Linked DNA regions of Homo sapiens: regions 1 and 2 are each linked to region 3. The links are contacts of gene promoters, found by promoter capture Hi-C in human tissues and cell types (Jung and others, 2019). All regions are on one chromosome and are shown on one strand. Each heading gives the region's core, a stretch centred on a gene start or on the middle of the fragment in contact. The rest is flanking DNA. Distances are from core to core; before and after follow the strand shown. Region 1 overlaps STK3 (serine/threonine kinase 3). Region 2 has its middle 38 kb from the start of RRM2B. Region 3 holds the start of ANKRD46 (ankyrin repeat domain 46).

What was found. The method cuts DNA at HindIII sites, captures the fragments that hold promoters and counts their contacts. A contact is called where the count stands out against the background at its distance.
Region 1: a contact is called between a fragment that was not itself captured here and the fragment with the promoter of ANKRD46 in region 3, in 1 of the 25 tissues and cell types used here (lymphoblastoid cells).
Region 2: a contact is called between a fragment that was not itself captured here and the fragment with the promoter of ANKRD46 in region 3, in 1 of the 25 tissues and cell types used here (lymphoblastoid cells).

Annotation. Positions count from the first base shown.
Region 1 is chr8:98,704,778-98,708,243 of GRCh38, forward strand. It overlaps STK3 (serine/threonine kinase 3), which reads right to left. Exons shown (of 11, transcript NM_006281.4): 5 at 2,370-2,534; 6 at 1,690-1,857. Among named protein-coding and RNA genes, the nearest start is that of STK3, 120 kb to the right of the region's middle. The HindIII fragment of the contact is 3,570 bases long and covers 116-3,466 here.
Region 2 is chr8:102,199,257-102,202,609 of GRCh38, forward strand. No RefSeq gene overlaps it. Among named protein-coding and RNA genes, the nearest start is that of RRM2B, 38 kb to the right of the region's middle. The HindIII fragment of the contact is 3,129 bases long and covers 388-3,353 here.
Region 3 is chr8:100,557,997-100,561,556 of GRCh38, forward strand. It overlaps ANKRD46 (ankyrin repeat domain 46), which reads right to left and starts at 1,763. Exons shown (of 5, transcript NM_001270377.2): 1 at 1,715-1,763. RefSeq lists enhancers at 1,665-1,959, 1,927-2,066 and a silencer at 1,757-1,926. The HindIII fragment of the contact is 6,170 bases long and covers 1-3,560 here.

The DNA.
Region 1 (3,466 bases), core at 651-3,150, 1.9 Mb before region 3:
CTATTTGGTTGGAAAAATAAGATTTACACAGGGAAGAAGCAGAATAGTAATAATGGAAGTCCTAAGTTAAATCCCAGCTCTTGTACTTACCTAGGTTGCCTTGGGTAATTTAGTAAACCTCACTGATTCAAACTCAAATACACCTACTTTGAGGATCACCCTACAAACATCCTAACTAAAAGAACCACAGATAACTAATGATCAGAGATGAAATAAGACTTTGTGTTCCTGTTTTTATGCTGACCTTGTTGTTTTTCAAGTTATTTTCAAACAATTGATGCATTTTTATCTTTCATTTACCAAAAGGAATTTATATACACCAGGAAGATGATACATATTGTATACAATTACATTACTCAAAGAACTCTAGGCTGGGCACACTGCTGTAATCCCAGCACTTTGGGAAGCTGAGGTGGGCGGATCGCTTGAGCCCAGAAGTTGGAGACCAGCCTGGGCAACATGGCGACACCTTGTCTCTACAAAAAATTAGTTGGGCATGGTGGTGCATACCTATAGTCCCAGCTACTCTGCAGGCTGAGGTGGGAGGATCACCTGAGCCCAGGAGGTCGAGGCTCGAGTGAGCCATGATCGCACTACTACAATCCAGGCTGGGTGACAGAGTGAGACCTTATCTCAAAAGAAAAAAAAAAAAAACTCTCTTTAAAATGTTTCAATACAGCAGACAGATTTTTAAATATTTTCTGTATAATACACTGTTACCTATATTATCGAAATTTAACCCACAATGGCATTATAATATCAGATGTAATTCCAATTTATTCTTCTTCAGATATTCTAAAATATCTGAATTTTTATGCATTCTTCCTCTTTCTATCTATTTACTTCACATTCCTCCAGCCACCATGATATTATCTTCTCTTTTCTACAAATACACACATACATACACTCCTCCCCTCATTCCTACATCCTTATTGAGATAACTACAGCCACTAGAGGGCAATAAGTATACAAAGATCAGTGTACCTATTTATGATGATGAACTTATCTATATGATTCACATAGTAATAAACCTAAAAAGTATATCATCACAAACCCTGAAACACAGGCAATTAGACTTGAATATGCAAAATATATATTTCAAACTCAAAAATTATCCTGCAGAGTTCACAGAAGCATATAATGATGTTCAAAAAAGGAATTCCATTTTCTCAGCATGCATTCATTAAAAAAAATTAGCCGAATTCCTTTATATGTGCATAGTAATATTAGAAATTAGGATTGCTTAATACCATCCTCAGACCAAAGAAGAGAAAAGGCAGAAAAAAAAAAACACACAGTAAGGTATAAATCACAGAGTGGGTAAAAAAGTGAGAAATGATTACTTCCAACTCTTTCACTACCACAATCAAGAAAACAATAAACTGAAGAGCAAAGAGGATTTACCAACCCTTTCTTCTATTGAAAAGCAAGCAAAAATTTTACAAGTATATTTTTGGGGGAGGAGAACAGTGATGGTAGAGATATACAAAGCCTTCAGTTCTTTTCTCACAATTAAGAATGCAGAAGGAAGAGAAGTTAACAGTTACTAATCTTTAAGAGGTAATTTTACCATTTTTAAAAAGAATACATTTAAATGAACTTATTTAGTTTATATTTACTTACATTGACATTACAAAACGGCAACACTTATATAAGGCTAACATTTTCAGCAAACCATAATTTTCTTACCCTCATTGGATGTATATCAGCATAAGGAGGTTTTCCTTCAGCCATTTCTATAGAAGTAATGCCAAGGGACCAGATGTCGGCCACACAGTTATAGCCTATTTCTTGAATCACCTCAGGAGCCATCCAAAATGGAGTTCCTATTACAGTATTGCGTTTTGCCATTGTATCCTGCAATAATGTTACATAGCCATAAATGCTACTACAAAAGCACAAAGGAAATCTGTATGCCAAACATACTTTTAAAAAATGTTAAAACCTCCAATGCCACAGATTATATCAGAAATTGACTATTTTGCTAAAATTTCAACTAGTTATGACATACTTAGGAATTCCGAATTCTGAAAATAACCAAGAGTCCACAGGTAACTTATCCACACTACCATCATTAAACACAGTCATTAAAGATAGTGCTACAATGATAAAAGCTACAGAAATGAGCTACGTAGCTTCCCTTTTAGAACATTTAAGCATTTTGATTATAAGATATATTTTCACATTCAATCACCCTAAATTATAAATTAAATAATACTCAAATTTGGCTCAATTATGGTTCCTTCTCCACAAAAATTAAAAAACTACACATTTCTTTCCATTCCCCCTCAAAAAGTAATTGAAGTTTAGTTATAATCAAATCTGAACAAATTAGCCAAGTGTTTAGAAAACCATTAAAGTTAACTTACTGTTAACTGACCAGCCACTCCAAAATCTGCCAATTTTGCATGTCCTTCTGTATTGAGGAGAATATTTCCAGCTTTTATATCTCTGTGTATTTTTCTCATAAAGTGCAAATATTCTAGTCCTTTCAATGTAGATTTAAGAATGGTTGCAATTTCATCTTCTATTAACTGGAAAGAAATATTTTTAAAACCATAATTAAAATGCCACGTTAGATAAAATCTTACGAAAGAGCACTAGTAACAAGTATGTCTTTCCGTGTGTGTGTGTGTGTTTTTTTTTAAGAGACCCCACTCTGTTGCCCAGGCTACAGTGCAGTGGTGTGATGATAGCTCACTGCAGCCTAAAATTCCTGGGCTCAAGGCATGCTCCCACCTCAGCTTCCCGAGTAGCTAGAACTACAGGCACATGCCAACCCAATAGGCTAACTTATTTTTATTTTTGTAGAGATGGGGATCTCGCTATGTTGCCCGGGCTGGTCTTGAACTCTTTGCTTCAAACAATTCTCCTTCCTCAGCTTCCCAAAGTGTTGGGATTATAGGTGTGAGCCACCATGCCTAGCCACAAGTACTTCTTTCTAATGACCGCTAAACCTCCAGGAAAATGCTAAAGGGGTAAATAATCGAGAACCTCTTCTTCCCACAATAAGCTTTCTTATTACACATTTTACTAATGAAAGGATGATCAAATTTCTCTCTTTAAGATTATCAGTATCAGCAGGGCGTGGTGGCTCACACCTGTAATCCCAGCACTTTGGGAGGCTGAGGCGAGCAGATCACTTGAGGTCAGGAGTTCAAAACCAGCCTGGCCCACATGGTGAAACCTCGTCTCTACTAAAAATACAAAAATTAGCCAGGCGTGATGGCGTGCACTTGTAATCCCAGCTACTCAGGAGGCTGAGGCAGGAGAGTCACTTGAACCTGGGAGGCAGAGGTTGCAGTGAGCTGAGATCACATCACTGCATGCCAGCCTGGGCGACACAGCGAGACTCCATCTCAAAAAAAAAAAAAAATTATCAGTATCATTCCTAAAGCAAACAACATATCTCAAGAATCAGCCTGATATAAGGAATCATAATAGTGATTTCCCACATCTTCTAATA
Region 2 (3,353 bases), core at 702-3,201, 1.6 Mb after region 3:
GCTCCAACAGATCCAAACCACCAGACAGCAGGAATTAGAAACAGGTGCTACCTATGGTCTGTGTATTAGTCCGTTCTCGCACTGCTATAAAGAAACTGAGACTTGTTAATTTATAAAGAAAAGAGGCTTAACTGACTCACGGTTCCTCAGGCCGTACAGGTAGCATGGCTTGGGAGGCCTCAGGAAACTTTCAATCACAGCAGAAGGTGAAGGGAAAGCAGGCATATCTCACATGGCCGGAGTAGGAGGAAGAGAGCAAAGTGGGAAGTGCTACACACTTTTAAACGATCAGATCTCGTGAGAACTCACTCACTATCATGAGAACAGCAAGGCGGAAGTTGGCCCCCTTGATCCAATCACCTCCCAATAGGCCCCTCCTCTAACACTGGGGATTACAATTCAACATGAGATTCGGGCGGGTCCACAAATCCGAAACATATCAGTCTGGAATTTAAATAAATTGAAGCAAGCATATCTTTATTTGCCACCAATTTATTACCCTAAGTTCTGGGCAAGACTTCTTGGAAAACTCCTCTAAATTTTTTGAGCAGCATCTAACATTTTACACAGTAGACCACGTGATGTGTTCTCAGGTTTCCAAAATTTGTCATATGCAGCCACTGGCCGGACATGCCATTGTGAGTTTCACCTGTACTATTTCTTTTCTTAACGTTTTTAAATTATTTTACTTAAAAAAAAAAAACTATTCAGGATCAGGCGTGGTGGCTCACACCTGTAACTGCAGCACTTTGGGAGGCCGAGGTGGGCAGATCACTTGAGGTCAGGAGTTCGAGACCAGCCTGGCCAACATGGTGAAACCCTGTCTCTACGTGTCTCTACTACAAATACAAAAATTAGCCGGGCATGGTGGCATGTGCCTGTAATCCCAGCTACTTGGGAGGCTGAGGCAGGAGAATCACTTGAACCTGGGAAGCAGAGAGCCGGGATCAGTGAGCCGAGATCACACCACTGCACTCCAGACTGGACGAAAGAGCAAGACTCCATCTCAAAAACAAACAAACAAACAAACTAAACTTTTCAAAGAAGATTTTCCAGATGTAATTAAAAAACAAGTATCAACTGCCCTTGCAGTCCCAATGTCTTCAAACATTATTGCCATTCCAGTCATGAAGTGATGCTCAAACACAATTCTCAGCAAGCCATGCCGCATGACCTTGAGACGGACAAATGAAGCTCTAAATTGACACCTGCCAATGGAGTGTGTTATGGAGGGTGTGTAGCTCAAAGGGATCGTATCCCACCAAAAAATCATCTTGACTTCCACCAGCTAGCAATAGAAATTTGGGTGCACTCAGTGAAAAGATGATGCGATTTAAACCATGATGCCTGGGTTGGGGTCATGCCTCTACCCCTTACTAGTTGTGTGACTTTGGACAGGAACTTAACTTCTCTGAGCTTCAAGTCCCAAATATCATTGTTATCATAATAATAATGATATTATTATGACAGCAATTTCTCATAAAATTGGTGAGCCAATGAAATTATTGCAATGGTATGACTGCAAAATCACCTTGTAAACTCTAAAGTATGCATAAATATTTATTAATTTCCTGAGAAATAAATCTTCCAAGATACAGTGAAGCTTACACTTTTACTGTCAGAACTTGGACATTATCATTATTGATGAGAGACTATAAAGAACATGGCCTTTGACCATTACTCAGACAATTGAGTAGGCGACAGGAGAATGTTTCTCACCCCTTCTTTCTATGATGTGTAAACATGCTAAGCTGGAGAAATGATCAGAGAACAGGAGATGTGGTTGTGAGAGTTGGCACAGGATGCAGAAAGCCCAGATGTACAATGAGTGCTATCCTGCCATAGACACATCACCTAGCAAGGTCCCATAAAACCAGGACAACTCTTTCCTTCACATGGTGGATCTTCACTGCACCTCAACTCAGCCAGTTTTAACAAGTCAGTACCACCCCCAGCTATCTACGGTCGCCTCACCGTAGTCCTGATAGTGCTGTACATGGCCCCATTCCTGACCCAGCCTCACTTGTCTATCCCTCCCAAATGCTGGCCCTGAGCCTTTGGTAACCCCTTCTCCAAAATCAGTCAGTTGGTGCCTTCCTCTGCGGGCCTTATGTTACCTGAAACAGGGCATTGCCCTGGGAACTCTTCCCATGTCGCCTTTGGAAAGAAAGCTTTTATTTTCTCACACCCCATGGACCTCTCAGGTATGTGGGGAAAGTTGAGCTGGGGTCCTCTTTGATCCCCACTGACACCTCCAGACCATGGACACCACATTATTTTGTTACAACCCTGCTCTTTTAAGACTCACAACTCAGCTATACCTCCCTCTCCTACTCCTCATCTTGTCCTGACAGTACCTCTCTTTCACTGAAGAGTTAAACACTTGGCTCTCAGGATCCACCCAAGATGCAAAACCCTGGACTCTCAGCTCCCTGAGGTTCTCATCACCAATGAGCCCACCCACTTCCCCAGCAACAAACCCCAGCCTCCTTCTCCCACACTTACTATGTTCTGAATCACCAATTCTAGCACCTCACTCTGACCACAATCTCCTCCCCTTCCAGAGCACTTGTTCACCTACTCCCCCCACCACAGTTCTTAGACTTAATCAAGACCCCCAAGTTCTCTCACTCATCTACTTTCTCCCAATCCATGAACCTCTTCTCTTCACGTCTCTCTATCCAGCTAAGATTCCGGAGTCCATCATATTACTAGTAGTAGCATTCCTATCAATAGCCTTAACTCTGTTCCTCACCTGCATTTTACCATACATACATACATTTTACCATACATAGAAAAATCCAGGAAAAAACCCATTGTGAATGCAACAATCCAGTTTTTACATATTTGTACCCTAGCAGCAAATGCTGCTAGAGAAAAACCATACACTAAGGCAAACTGAATCTACTAGGCTCTCCATCCTCCACAATTGCTTCTTCACACCTCCCCTCGCTGCCCCTACCCCCACTTCCCAAGGAGGTGACCTTATCATCTCTTTCACAGAGAAATTAAGTCAACAAACAACAAGCTTACAATGTCTCTTCACTAAACTACAGACATACCCCATCACCATCCATCCACCTTCCCTAGCTTCCCTCCTGCTACAATAGAGGAAGTGTCTGAGGTCAAGCCCTCCACCTGTGCTTTCCATCATCCCACCTTCTCAGGAGGCTTACATTACCTTCTCACACCCCTCTTCTTACCTTTGCCAAGATTGTCTTGATGAATTCTTATCTCAAGATTTTTTCTCAGTTGGGCACGGTGGCTCACGCCTGTTATCCCAGCACTTTAGGAGGCCGAGTTGGGCGGATCATGAGGTCAAGAGATAGAGACCATCCTGACCAACATGGTGA
Region 3 (3,560 bases), core at 513-3,012:
TCCTGGAAGACAAGGACTTCATTTTGTTCACTCTCACATCCCCCAGTGCTTAGAACAGAGCCTGGCCATAGAAGGCACTCAATATACGCTTGCTATATGAATGCCGAATATGCAAATTCTTAAATCTATAATAGGTAAGGCTAAGAAGTTTGGGACTATAAAGCCCAACTTATTTCCACAATGGGAAATACAATTTCCCTTTTGATAAAGAACTGTGAGAATCCTTTGTTTTCCATAGTAACACAATTTATATAACATGCCAAAAATTCCTTATCACTTCACATCCTCTCTCCAGTGCCTTTCCTGTATTCTGTAAAATATTAACTTACTATCATCAAAAAATCTTTGATTTCCCTCTGGTACTGCTACCATAATAATGCAAAGGCAAAGTGAACTCACTAAAAAATGGTATGGAAACATAAATAATGAAGAAATGTAATAAAGTGTGTTAACAACCAAACAAATTCATCTCTATTTCAAATCAAATTGTACTGGCACAGTGAGAACCCCAGTCCAAGTTTAACTTTATTATCACTATAGTCCTTAATGAGCTAACAGTTTTCTTACTAAACTCCTTTTAAACTAAAAAGGAGTTCATGTAGGACTCCTGCATATAACCATGAAAACTAAGCCTGAGAGAAATCAGTTCAGGCTACAAATCTAATTGATAAAACTCTTAGACAGCGCTACATGTTTGGCTAGATAACAGACGCAGGGATACTGAAGTAAGGGAGATGAGACCAAATCTCGCTCAGCCTTTGCTAGCTTTCTGACCTTGGAGAAGTCAGACTCTCGGTGCCTCAGTTTCCTTATCTGTATAATGGAAATGGTACCTGATAGGGTTGCTTCAAGGATTAAAGGTACCAGGTATTTAAAGCAATGGCACCGTGTCTGACATAAAATAAGCACTGAAAATAGCTATTACTAGAACATAAAAATAATCCCCACACCACTCATATTACAGCTCTTTAAGAGGCTCCTAGGTACCACCGTCATTTTTTAAAGATTGAGAAGCGCTACTATTCAATGGCATATTTTTACCTTATTATGTTCTGTAGCCAATTCCGAATACCGTGGAACGTTACAAAAAACAGATGTTATTTTCTTGAGGTACTGTTGGGAAAACCTCAGAGAGAACGATCTGCTTTTTAGCACTGCAAGCCAATTAAGGGAGGAAGTTTGCGATTACCCGAGCCCTAAGTGGAAGGTGTGCAAATCCTTCCTTTTAACCCGGGCACCCCGGAGCCATGTGCCATTCTGGAGAGCTCACTCACACCCCAACAGCTTGTCCCGGCGCCTGAACTGTGCGCTCCTGCAAGCACACGCCGCGAAAGCACCGTCTCGCCCCGGCCGAGCAGCTGGACCTGCGGCGTGGCTTCCGCGCTCCACCCCCCGATTAACCGCGAGCCAGGGCTGCCCGCGCTGCCCAGGGGTTCCCCGGACCACAGCCCTAACCCGCAAGCGCAAACGAGAACCCTCGCAGGCCTCTGCCCGGCCCTCGTGAACACACAGACCGCGAAGAAGCCATCACGGACCCGCGGTCGCTTCCTCGGCCCGGCTCCCTCCAGTCGCCGCGGAAGGTGTGGGAAGCCCGGGCACCCTCGCCCCTCAGGGCCCCGGCCAGGCCTACTGGACCTCCAGTGCTACAGGGACGGTGCAGGAGATATCAAGTGGCTCTAGCCCAGGCGCTGCCCACAGGCCCCGGGCCAAGTACCTGCGACTCGAACGAGCAGCAGCGACAGCGGCAGCTTCAAGGAGGCGGTGACGGGCGGAGGGGAGGGGCCAGACAGGGGTAGTCGGAGTCCCCGCTGGGCCAGAGCGGTCTCGCGCTGCAGCCCCCGGCGCGCCCCCTGCAGGTGGGCGGTCCTCACGGTGGCTCGGGCTGCTCTGAGTCAGAGACTCCGGGAAAGCCTGCTCTGAATTAGGGAAAGCATCAAAACTGTGGCTTCAGAAGAGAAAGACAGCCTAGAAGAGGTTTATCCGATCTGAGTCCGGGAGCATTTTGCACTTTTCACGTCCTATTCTAAATTCACATCCCATCCCCTTAGCTAAATGGGGGCTTCAAAGGCAAGGGCAGTTTCATTAGGTGCTATAAGCATCAATTAATAGTTGCTGGCCTCTAGGTAGGTCTTCTATAGACCCGAAATTGACATATTAGGAATAGCCACTAATGATTGGCTGCACTATTTCTAAAATATAACCCTGCATTTTTACTTTTTTCAAAAGCAGTTTGAATCTTTTTTTTTTTTTTTTTTTTTAGACGGAGTCTCACTCTGTCGCCCAGGCTGGAGTGCAGTTGCTCAACCTCGGCTCACTGCAAACTCCAACTCCGCCTTCCGGGTTCAAGCGATTCGCAGTTTGAATCCTTCCATCCTACTTTGTAGGGTTCCTTGACTTATTGCAACATGTACAGCCAAGACTAACTAAAAGTGTGGTGGGACATTCATATGCTGGAAACATTCTTTCATGCAAAACTAGTTTTTTCTTTTTTTCATTTTACCAACTCCAGTCCTACAGCCAAGACAACTCTCACTGCACAGTGACCGTCCTCTGAATTCTAGCACCCTCATCCAACCAAGCCACGCTCTATGGCAAACTTGTCCAACCCCTGGCCCACACCTGCAGGCTGCATGCAGCCAAGACAGTTTAGAATGCAGCCCAACACAAATTAATAAACTCTCTTAAAACATTATGAGTTTTTTTTTTTTTGCAATTTTTTTTTAGCTCATCAACAATTGCTGGTGTTAGTGTATTTTATGTGTGGCCCAAGACAATTCTTCTTCCAATGTGGCCCAGGGAAGCCAAAAGATTGGACACCCCTGCTCTAGGGTATCTCATGGTTCATTCATTCAAGGACCACCTACACCATCTAATAATTTGTTCTTGAAAGTGTCATGTAAAGGTTTAGGACTATTGTCATATTAGAGGAAATCACTATTACATTTCTTTCATGTAAGAATTATAAGATCTGGCCATGCACGGTGGCTCACACCTGTAATCCCAGCACTTTGGGATGCTGGGGTGGACAGATCACTTGAGGTCAGGAGTTCGAGACCAGCCGGACCAACATGGTGAAACCTTGGCTCTACAAAAATACAAAAATTAGCCAGGCACGGTGTTGCACACCTGTAATCCCAGCTACTCAGGAGGCTGAGGCACAAGAATCCTTGAACCCCAAAAGGCGGAGGTCACAATGAGCCGAGATCTCACCACTGCACTCCAGCCTGGGTGACAGAACAAGACTCCATCTCAAAAAAAAAAAAGTTATAAGATCTTAGGGCATTTCACATTTTATTGTGCTATGACTAATCAGCAATATTACTTGTTAAATTGATGACATTTATTAATCAGTTTGTTATTGATGTCCTCCTTCTGGTTGTGTATTGAGTTTATAATATCTTCACTGATGCCTATAAACTATGACAAATTAGCAAGGAAATTAAAGCTTTTCCCAATGTATTAATAAGATTTACTCTTCATTAGTTGACTCATCCAACAATCTGAGAGCCTCTCCATTACTTCTATTCAAATTTATCTCTTCCTCTTCATGAATTACTGCT